Regions from separate parts of the Homo sapiens genome. Here all the other regions are linked to region 1. The links are contacts of gene promoters, found by promoter capture Hi-C in blood cells and fetal thymus (Javierre and others, 2016). All regions are on one chromosome and are shown on one strand. Each heading gives the region's core, a stretch centred on a gene start or on the middle of the fragment in contact. The rest is flanking DNA. Distances are from core to core; before and after follow the strand shown.

What was found. The method cuts DNA at HindIII sites, captures the fragments that hold promoters and counts their contacts. A CHiCAGO score of 5 or more calls a contact.
Region 2: a fragment that was not itself captured here is called in contact with the fragment with the promoter of IFT172 in region 1 in 1 of 17 cell types (endothelial precursors); the score reaches 6.5 in endothelial precursors.
Region 3: a fragment that was not itself captured here is called in contact with the fragment with the promoter of IFT172 in region 1 in 1 of 17 cell types (endothelial precursors); the score reaches 7.3 in endothelial precursors.

Annotation. Positions count from the first base shown.
Region 1 is chr2:27,487,944-27,491,562 of GRCh38, forward strand. IFT172 (intraflagellar transport 172) reads right to left here and starts at 1,800. Exons shown (of 48, transcript NM_015662.3): 1 at 1,672-1,800. The coding sequence starts at 1,710. The HindIII fragment of the contact is 7,682 bases long and covers 1-3,619 here.
Region 2 is chr2:27,666,096-27,669,714 of GRCh38, forward strand. It overlaps SLC4A1AP (solute carrier family 4 member 1 adaptor protein), which reads left to right. Exons shown (of 14, transcript NM_018158.3): 3 at 1,173-1,295; 4 at 2,748-2,808; 5 at 3,153-3,292. Among named protein-coding and RNA genes, the nearest start is that of SLC4A1AP, 4.0 kb to the left of the region's middle. The HindIII fragment of the contact is 2,905 bases long and covers 341-3,245 here.
Region 3 is chr2:27,649,513-27,653,131 of GRCh38, forward strand. It overlaps GPN1 (GPN-loop GTPase 1), which reads left to right. Exons shown (of 14, transcript NM_007266.4): 14 at 603-1,999. The coding sequence ends at 688. It overlaps SUPT7L (SPT7 like, STAGA complex subunit gamma), which reads right to left. Exons shown (of 6, transcript NM_014860.3): 6 at 1,297-3,619. Among named protein-coding and RNA genes, the nearest start is that of SUPT7L, 12 kb to the right of the region's middle. RefSeq lists an enhancer at 3,095-3,619. The HindIII fragment of the contact is 7,798 bases long and covers 1-3,619 here.

The DNA of each region.
Region 1 (3,619 bases), core at 550-3,049:
ATTAAGGTACCCCAGTACATATTACACACTCAGTTATGGAACATCTTATTTATTTTTAAGACACAGCCTCACTCTGTCACCCAGGCTGGAGTGCAGTGGTGTGATCACGTCTCACTGCAGCCTCGACCTCCTGGGCTCAGGAGATCCTCCCACTTCAGTGACCCCAGCAGCTGGGCCTACAGGTGCTTGCCACCACACGAGGCTATTTAAAAAAAATTTTTTTTTTTTGGACAAAGTCTCACTCTTGTCCCCCAGGCTGGAGTGCAGTGGCACGATCTCGGCTCACTGCAACCTCCACCTCCCGGGTTCAAGCGATTCTCCTTCCTCAGCCTCCTGAGTAGCTGGGATTACAGGCGGCTGCTGCCACGCCCGGCTAATTTTTGCATTTTTAGTAGAGATGGGGTTTCACCATGTTGGCCAGGCTGGACTTGAACTCCTGACCTCAGGTGATCCGCCCGCCTCGGCCTCCCAAAGTACAGGGATTACAGGTGTGAGCCACCGCACCTGGTCAAAATTTTTTTGTAGAGGTCTTGGAATCTTGGGCTCAAGTGATCCTCCCACCTTGGCCTCCCAAATTGCTGGGATTACAGGTGTGAGCCACTGGGCCTGGCCAGACATCTTATTCTTATTAGCTTTGTATTATTCTGTCCTTTGAATTTTGAATGTCCTTTCCTCTTGTCTATCAATTTTTCACACTGCTTTTCAGTTTACAATGCTCTTTTGTGTATATTACTCTATATAACTCTTCCCCAAGTCCCCTAAAGTTGCTATTAGTACTCATGTTTTTTCAAATGAAGAAGTTGGTGAGTGCTCCGAGACATTGTATAATAAAGGCTAAAGTTAGAGATATCAGGTCATTTGTTTAAAGTACTGGTGGCCAGTCTGGGCAACATGGGGAAACCTCGTCTCTACAAAAAACAAAAACAAAAACAAACAAAGAAACAAAAAATTACCCGGGCGTGCTAGCGCACGTCTGTAATCCCAGCTACTTGGGAGGCTATGGCAGGAAAATCCCTTGAACCCGGGAGGCGGAGGTTGCAGTGAGATCGAGCCACTGCACTCCAGCCTGGGCAACAGAGCAAAACTCTGTCTCAAATAGTTAAATAAAGTAGTGGTTGACCTGAAATAAGGACAAGGTAAGAAATTTTAAAAAGAAAATAAGAAAGTAGTGGTGGAGCTAGGACTTAAATTCTGGTGTGCTAACTCCAAAGCCCACCCTTTCTTCACCATGTTTCAGGGCTCCTCCCCTAGTGCCCAGCCTCTCCTGAATCAGAATACACGGTTCGGTCTTTGCACTCCCCCTTCAGGGCTTGCACCTAAGGCGCTTATTTAATTATGGGCACATGCATACTCGCTGCTTACATGTGCACCTCACCCTCTAATACGAGCCTCCTGAAGGGAGGGACATAAGTCGGGTGGTTTGGGATTCCTACGAACCCCAGCATGGGGCCTGTACACAACTGATGTGAATGAAATGTAAGGAAAGCTACAAGTCCTTAGCCCTGCATCTCGCCTCCTGGACGCTGTATCGACAGGCCAAGATCCAGATCATCGCTATATCCCTTACAGCCTTCTGCACACAGTAGGAGGTCAACATCATTAAACTTCAGTTCCCCCACTTTTCTTGGAACATAAAGCATAAGGGGGAGGGACTGGCACGCAATTCCTCACCTGAGGGCTCAGCAGGGTCCTCAGGTGCTTCAAGTGCATGACGCACACCTGTCTTTCAGATGCTCCTAGACAGCGACAACTCCCGTGGTTACCTGGACAACCCGCCACGCAGCCGCAGCGACAGGCACTGACGCTTATGCGACCGGAGCGCAACACGCGTCGCAAGGTCACACGTAACTTTGCGGCGAAGCAAACAGAACGTGCGCAAGCGCGGTGAGATCTAGGGCGGGCCCTTGAGAGGGCTTCATGAATGTTCTCCTTGACCAATCCCGTCGCCGCATGCAAACTCAAGACCAAGCCCCGCCCACAAGCCTTCAGCCAGCCCCAGGTCCTACGTCATAGCGGTCCGTCTCGCTCTTCGATGTACCTGACTTTCTGAGTGCACTCTCTTAATCCTCACAACTCTGGAGGGAAGCAGGGCGGTTTCCATGATAGGCCTTCTGCAGTTGACGGAATTGTACCCAAATAGGTTACATGATTTGCACGGGATCGCAAGGCTAATAACGATAGCTAACGATGAATACTCAGTATGTGTCTGCCAGGTACTGTGTAAAGTATTGTACGTGCATTTATATCATTTAATCCCAAAACCACCTTTTGAAGGGGATAGCGTTATTATTAGTCTCATTTTACATAACAGGAGACTCAGGGCACTTGCTCAAACTAACACAGCCAGCGAAGGACTTGGAACTGGAGTTCAACCCAGAGTTAGTAGCTTTAAACAGCTTTTATGTTCCTTCTCAACTCCTAGCTCGCTCTCTCCATGCCACGATACTATAACCTGTCACATTCCCATCCCAATAAATGACATTTATTCTCAGAATCTGGAAGATGAGTGTTTTGGAACTAGCTGCCAAAGAAACGTAAGGTACCCTACTTCCTAATTGGGTAATGGTGGGTTAAAGACTGCTGTTTACATTGGAATGTTTTTATGGTTCAGTTTGTTGTTGTTGTTGTTTTGAGACAGAGTTTCACTCTTGTTGCCCAGGCTGGACTGCAATGGCGCGATCTTGGCTCACTGCAACCTCTGCCTCCCGGGTTCAAGAGATTCTCCTGCCTCAGCCTCCCAAGTAGCTGGGATTACAGGCATGTGCCACCACGCCCGACCAATTTTGTATTTTTAGTAGAGACAGGGTTTCTCCATGTTGGTCAGGCTGGTCTCAAACTCCCGACCTCAGGTGATTTGCCCGCCTTGGCCTCCCAAAATGCTGGGATTACAGGCGTGAGCCACCGTTCTCGGCCTGTGGTTCAGTTTTGAGGGCAGACCTGACTTGGCTCACCCGATAGGTTGTCTTGTGATACCTGGGGTTAGAGATTGGTTAAGTAGAAAAGAGACTGACTTGTTGATCTTTGGAGTCCCGTTCAGAATTTTTGGCCTATCTTCTAACATACCAGAGAGATTGAAATGCAGAAAGGAGTTATTCATAAGCCTGCTCTGAAATGATCCAAAGTTGGGAAGATCTGTAACTCTCCAGGAAGTGTAACATATGCTCTCCAGACAGACTGTGGGTCCAGAAGCCTTCCCCCACAGTGGTTTGCAAGTGTCAACAGGTGTTTGTCTCATGGCCACCAACCACCCCTTAGAAAATAGGAAAGAGCAGAGGACAGCCCCTATTTTCACAGGAAACAAGTAGGCCTCAGAGCTCAAATGAGAATTATTTTGACAGGGGAGTCCCAACCCCTCAGTTTTATTTTCAGAATCCTCCTCTGGATATGGTGGCAGAGCATGAATATAAACTCATTTATGAATTACAGTTATTACTGACTTTGACTGACTAAACAGAGACAGAGATGAAAGGGAATGCAAAAGAGGGAAGAACAGACACAGGAACACATAGGATAGGAGCATGTGGCACCAAGGAATCCATGAGTGTAGCTGTCCTTTCATTAGTCCCCAAGACACTGCTTAGTCCTTTTCTGACCATTAGCCCAGGGTTGATGGAGGAGT
Region 2 (3,619 bases), core at 543-3,042, 180 kb after region 1:
AAAAAAGAATGTAAAATATCTCTTTCATGATATTTTTATATTGATGACATGTTGAAATGACAATAATTTTACCTGTTTCCTTTTAATTTTTTAATGTGGCTAATAGAAAATTTAAGATGACGCATACAGCTGTCATTATATTTCTGTTGGACAGCACTGACTTAGATCTTTGGGAAACTTAATTTTTTTTATTTTAGTAGAGATGGGGTTTCACCATATTGGCCAGGCTGGTCTTGAACTCCTGACCTTGTGATCCACCCCCCACCCCCCCCCCCCACCCCGCCCCCCGGCCTCCCAAAGTGTAGAGATTACAGGCGTGAGCGATCGCACTCCACAGGGAAGCTTTATGAGCATAAGGATTTTGAGCTGGAACTTGAAGGAAAGGAAAAGCCTTATGAAGCTGAGTATTGGGATTGGTATTCAGGGTAGGAATTGATGATTTTAAGGAAGTTGTGAGTAGACCAGTCTATTTGGCAGATATAAGAAGTATTAGGAAATTATATTGGGAACGAAAGTTAGATATGAGTGTGAGAGAACAAGAATGCCAGGCTGAGGAGCTCAAATTTTTTTTCCACAATGTGGTAGGTAATTTTACTTTTAAAATATAATGATGGAGAAAAAAAAATTAAGGTGCCATGAAAACAAGTTTTGACTTGTCACACAATTTAGAAAACCTGAATATGCTCATACTAGTGGTTTTGTGGTGGTTGTTCCACCCCCTGTCCCTGCAAGTATTTATTATTTTTCATCACAGATAAACTATATATATATATATATTTTTTTTTTTTTGGGAGACGGTCTCACTGTGTTGCTTGGGTTGGAGTGCAGGTAGCGCGATCTTGGCTCACTACAACTTCTTCCTCCCAGGTTCAAGCAATTCTCCTGCCTCAGCCTCCCAAGTAGCTGGGATTACAGACACCCGCCACTGTGCCCAGCTAATTTTTTTTGTATTTTTAGTAGAGATGGGGTTTCACCATGTTGGCCAAGCTGGTCTTGAACTCCTGACCTTGTGATCCACCTGCCTTGGCCTCCCAAAGTGCTGGGATTACAGGCATGAGCCACTGCGCCCAGCCTAAACTATATCTTTATGCAGCCTGAGAGAATAGTGGGTATCATTCAAATAGTCTCTTCTCATGTCTGATTATCTTTTCTTTCTTTTCCATATCCTGTAGGAGAAGATGCAGTAGAGGATGATGCTGAAGAGAACCCTATTGTCTTAGAGTTTCAGCAGGAAAGGGAGGCCTTTTATATAAAGGATCCCAAAAAGGCTCTCCAAGGCTTTTTTGACCGAGAAGGTATGTAAACAGATTCTGACCCTACCACTAAAACATATCCAGAGCAGTGTGGTTTTCTAGAGCTTCATGTTGAGCTTTATACTAAGATATGCTATAATTTTATTGCTGTCCTTCTTGTTCACTTTTTACTCTTGTGGTCAGTTGCTTTAGGTTTATTTTGAAAATTATTCCTCATTAGTATGGCAGAGGGGAAAAAAATCATAAAAATCTTGTTAGTCTTTCTTCTTATCTTAAAAAAAGGAAGTACTTTTTCCTGACTCATCTCATTCTTCTCAAAAGATCCTGGACTTTGGTGGTGGGGAAATTGAGCCAACTTCCTGTAGTTTTTTAATTCCGAATTCACCTGATCTTTTGTAATTCCTAACATAGGTTTTGATTTTATATTATATGATTTAAAATTTTTTTTCCATAGAGGATTGTTTTGGTAGGAATACTTTGAGAGAATATCTATGTATATGTATGTATATCTGTATATATTTTATATGTATATATAAATAATATATGAAATAGCTGTGCACTTAATATCTGTGCTTCTAAAAACCAGGCAACTGTGTTAAAATAACCACTAAAGTCTACAACTTATAAAAGTGAAACATACTATACAGTGAACAGAGCTATGTATGGAGAATTGGTTACTTTGATCTGAGTTTGTTTTTTTCTCTGCCTCAGACTTACTCTAATTTTATTATCAGACAATAATCCCTAGGAATGAGAAGTGAAATGCATTGAAATTTATTATTCAGTGTGGTATGGGAACTTGTTCTTTTTTTTTTTTTGAGACGGAGTCTCGCTCTGTTGCCCAGGCTGGAGTGCAGTGGTGCGATCTCGCCTCACTGCAAGCTCCGCCTTCCGGATTCACGCCATTCTCCTGCGTCAGCCTCCCGAGTAGCTGGGACTACAGGCGCCCGCCACCACGCCCGGCTAATTTTTTTTGTATTTTTAGTAGAGACGGGGTTTCACTGTGTTAGCCAGAATGGTCTCGATCTCCTGACCTCGTGATCCTCCCATCTCGGCCATCCAAAGTGCTGGGATTACAAGCGTGAGCCACCGCGCCCAGCCAGAACTTGTTCTTTTTTTGAGACAGGGTCTCACTCTGTCGCCCAGGCCGGAGTGCAATGGCGCAATCTTGGCTCACTGCAACCTTGACCTCCTGGGTTTAAGCTATGCTCCGGCCTTAGCCCCCGTAGTAGCTGGGACAAAAGTCACGTACCATCATGCCCGGCTAATTTCTGTATTTTTTGTACAGATGGGGTTTTGCCATGTTGCACAGACTGGTTTCGCGCTCCTTAACTCAAGCTGTCATCCCGCCTCAGCCTCCCAAAGTGTTAGGATTACAGGCGTGAGCCACTGCTAGGAACTTGTTCGTATTTAACGTTTGTTCTCATTTATCATTGTATCAACTAGTAATTTTTGGATTCTATTAAAATTGTTTTGTCTGTCTTTCTCCCACAGGAGAAGAATTAGAATATGAATTTGATGAACAGGGACATAGCACTTGGCTCTGCAGGGTGAGGTATGCTCTTTTCTTATTAATGTTCTTTTCTGGAAAATGGCCAATTTCAGGTTTAATGTATGGTTATAGATAACAACCCAAAGAGTAACTTTCATCTAAGTTTAAGCTATTTCTAAATTTGAGCCTTTATCGTTTAGTAACCCTTATATTATTGGAGAGTGGGGTGGGATGGGTAAGAAATAGAAAGAAAATATTTTAAATCCAACATTGGAAAGATAGAACAAGATGGATTCAAAGACTGAAAGGCCATCTAAAAAAAAAATGACTATTATCATAGCATAGTAGTTGTTTTCTTGAGAATTGGAGCTTAATGCTGTGCTATAATTCCCACCAAATCAATGAAGATTACCTGTGGACGATTCAACTGGAAAACAACTGGTGGCTGAGGCCATTCACTCAGGAAAGAAAAAAGAAGCAATGATCCAGTGCTCATTGGAAGCTTGTCGGATTCTTGACACTTTGGGATTGCTTCGGCAGGAAGCAGGTCAGTATATAGGAGCCCTTTTTTTCTAGATTTAAAAAAAGGAAAACTCAACACAAACGCTAATAAAACTTCTTTATGGGGGGAAAATGTAAATTGTACAAAATTTTTTGAAGTGAAAAGAGAAAAATTCTCAATACCCTAAGGTAGCCACTGTTTATATTCTCCCAGACATTTTCTATGCATATATAGATGTGTGCTGAGACCTAGATCCTTTAACAAAAAACACTCATACACAAATGTAGTCATATTAATTACAATCTTTTGTGACTTACTTTTTTAACATAAGAATGTATCATGGATGTTGTTATTATTATTATTTTTGAGATG
Region 3 (3,619 bases), core at 720-3,219, 160 kb after region 1:
CCTCATGCCCCTTTTTTTTCAGTCCCCATCCTGAACACCTAGTGCCTGGCAACCACTGACTGATTTCTGTTCCTTTGATCTTGCCTTTTCCAGAATGCCATAGAAATAGAATCACAGTATTTAGCCTTTTGCATTTGACTTTTTTGACTCAGTAGTGTAGTCTCTCCATGTTGTTGCATGTATCAGTATGTTCTTTTTTATTGCTGAGTGATATTCCATTATTGTGGATGTTCCACAGTTTGTTTATCCATTCCCCAGTGGACTGATATTTGGGTAGATTTTAGCTATTATGAGTAAAGCAACTATAAACGTTTCCAAATAGATCTTTGTGTAGACGTATGTTTTCATTTCTCTTGGTTAAAAATACCTACAAGTGGGACCTTATTTTAGCTACTATGAGGGAGGTATTCTTTCTACTTATAAAGAAACTACATTTTGGGCAGCATGATAGAGCATGCTTCTAGGAGACATTTCCTTTTTGAGGGAAGTGAGTACTTAAGTTTCTTAGAAGTAATGTACTGTTTTCTGATGGATGGGTGACGGGCTCTAATCAGTTTGTCTAATGAAAGAGTTGAAAAAGAATTGCCCTTTTTTCCTTGCAGTTACAGAGGAAAGCCATGAAGAGCCAGCATTCCAGAATTTTATGCAAGAATCGATGGCACAATACTGGAAGAGAAACAATAAATAGGAGACTTTAGCACACTTCACTTGTTTCTAGAAGTCCAGAATTTTGGACCTCCACGTGAAAGAACTGTTCTTACCTCTGAACTGGGGGCTCCCATAAGGGATAATTTTCCTCAGAGTAGCAAAGTTTCTCTTATTAGAGAAATCTTGTGACTCAGATGAAGTCAGGGATAGAAGACCCTTGGACCTGGCAGGTTAATGCTGATTATTCCTTGGCCTTTCCCTTGTATTTATGCAAGGAAGGATATACTGAGCTGATACTCTTCCAAGCCTACAACTTCAAGTTTTATCATTTGAACTCAAGTACTTTTGCTGCTGAGGAATGGAATCAAAAGAACGTAGTCTCCTGGTGACCACCTCAGATCTCTATTATTAGGCTAGATGTATAGCCTCTACTCCCCCAGCTTCTTGCTCTTGACCCTGCACTGTAAGTTGCCCTTCTATTAGCAGCCAAGGAAAAGGGAAACATGAGCTTATCCAGAACGGTGGCAGAGTCTCCTTGGCAATCAACCAACGTTGCTATGAAATATGCCTCACACTGTATAGCTCATTATAGGACGTCAGGTTTGTTGAAAAAAGTGGGCAAGACATGATTAATGAATCAGAATCCTGTTTCATTGGTGACTTGGATAAAGACTTTTTAATTTTAACTTTGTTCTAAGACTGCTTGTCATGATTTCAAATTAGAAAATTATATAATTGCAAACAGCTTCACTTCTCCTGTTCAACAGAGGCTTAAGGCCAGATGTCCAAACTTGTCTCAATAAGGAGGTGATATTTTACTAAAGTTTCCCACGTGCACATACTGACTAAATACAGAGCTAGGCCCAGTTTGTATTGTACTCTGAACTTAATGCAAAGTCTCCTTGGTGATTTTCGCAAAGTCCGTGGATTTGGGTCAGAGGCACATTTCATACATAACAGCCCTTATAAACGTTTGCCCTGCCTCCACATTTTACAGTATCTTAAAACAGTACATTTCTTTCAAAGAATTTTATCTCTATGAGTCAGTACTCCAACTTAGTGGTTCTCACATTGTGGACCAGGAGCATCAGCATCATCTGGGGAATTGTTCAACTTACCTCTTATAACCTATGAACTCAGAAACCCTGGGGGTGGGCTGAGCAGTCTGTTTTAGAAAGCCCTCCATGTGATTCTGATGCATAGTAGCCTATGACATAATTCCAGACCAGGTGAATCTCAAGATACTAATCCTCACATCATTTGCCTTCTCATATTTCCCTCGTCTTGACCATCTGGTGCCTGTTATGCAGTTTAACATTCTGCAGCAATAAAAGTGTTTTATTATAAAGTATTAATTTTAATGTTCTATACTTAGTGGGAACCACTGGTCTCAAAATTTGAAGCTATTCTTTAAGAGGAGAACATTCGCAAAACTCAAGCATACTTGGTTTTTCTCTGTAGTACTTTTGAATGCTTTATCTTCCTTACAGAATAACTTGTCTTCCTTATGCTTCAAGCTCCAAAAGGGTAAGGAAGAAGTCTTAATCATTTTTGTATTCCTTGCACAGGACCTAGCAAATAATTGGTACTCAATGTTTGCTGGATGAATGAACTAAATTCCCATACGGCCACTTTATGGAAACTAACTGCCTAATCGCCACTTTCATTATAAACAAAGGAAAATGAAGATAAGACTGCAACAGAGGCCAGGTGCAGTGGCTCACGCCTGTAATCCCAGCACTTTGGGAGCCCGAGGCGGGCAGATCACTTGAGGTCAGGAGTTTTGAGACCAGCCTGGCCAACACGGTGAAACCTCATCTCTACTAAAAATGCAAAAATTAGCTGGGTGTGGTGGCATGTGCGTGTAATCCCAGCTACTCAGGTGGCTGAGGCAGGAGAATCGCTTGAACCTGGGAGGCAGAGGTTGCAGTGAGTCGAAATTGCACCATTGCACTCCAGCCTGGGTGACAGAGCAAGACTCCATCTCAAAAATAAATAAATAAATAAATAAATTAAAAAAAAGACTGTGACAGAAAGGGTTTAGAGAAATGTGCTAAAGAGTTACAATTGGCAAATTTAAAATTATATGTTAAACTATAACCTCATTTGTATCATATTCATTTATTCTCAATACCTGGGACATTTAAGGCATTCAATAATGAATTAAAGCTGTGCCTTATTTTGGTCTGCATTAAAGGAGTGGTCTAAATTTTACAAGATATATTTTGCATCAGAAAATCAAACTTCAGCAGTTTAACATGCTGGCATCCATCACCAAGGCATGAAGCAACACATTTGCTAATGATTCCTAATCACTACAGTGCTACATCATTTACTTAATAAATACTGATTCAGTACTTATATATACAGATAGTCTGATGGATGAGTAACCACAGTGATGTTGTTCAGGACATGATGTAAAGTTGAAAGGTGCATATTGCTATGTTTTAAAGGCTGCCTTTACAGTAGAAGCAGCAAAGTGTGCTTAATGGACTGCTGTCCTCTGATGACCAAGCAAATGCAACAAATGAAATATGCACAAGGCTGTCCTTGGACAGTACTTGTTTGCTTTGCTCACAAAGGAGAAAAGGAAAGAAACAATTGAAAATATGTATATGGTGAAAGTATGTGAGTCCGAGCAGAAATAACAAAGGCAAAAGGATGAGGAGAGATGGAGTAAGTCTAGAGAAGAAAATAAATGGATGAGATAGAGAGCTGTCTAAGCAAAAAAGGTGTCAGACCTCTGATCTTATAAATAAGACACTTCAAAAGTAGCAAAAACAGTTTTAAGAAGGTGACTAATAGATAAGGTGTGTTGTGTTTAGCTATTTCCTGTTAGGTATTAGTAATGGGTTCCCAATGACCTGAGCCAAAAATGAATCAAGTTAAATGAAAACTGACATCTGATATGAGCATATATTATTAGTCTATTCAAGCACAGTTTTGAAGTTAGCAAACATCTAAATCCTCA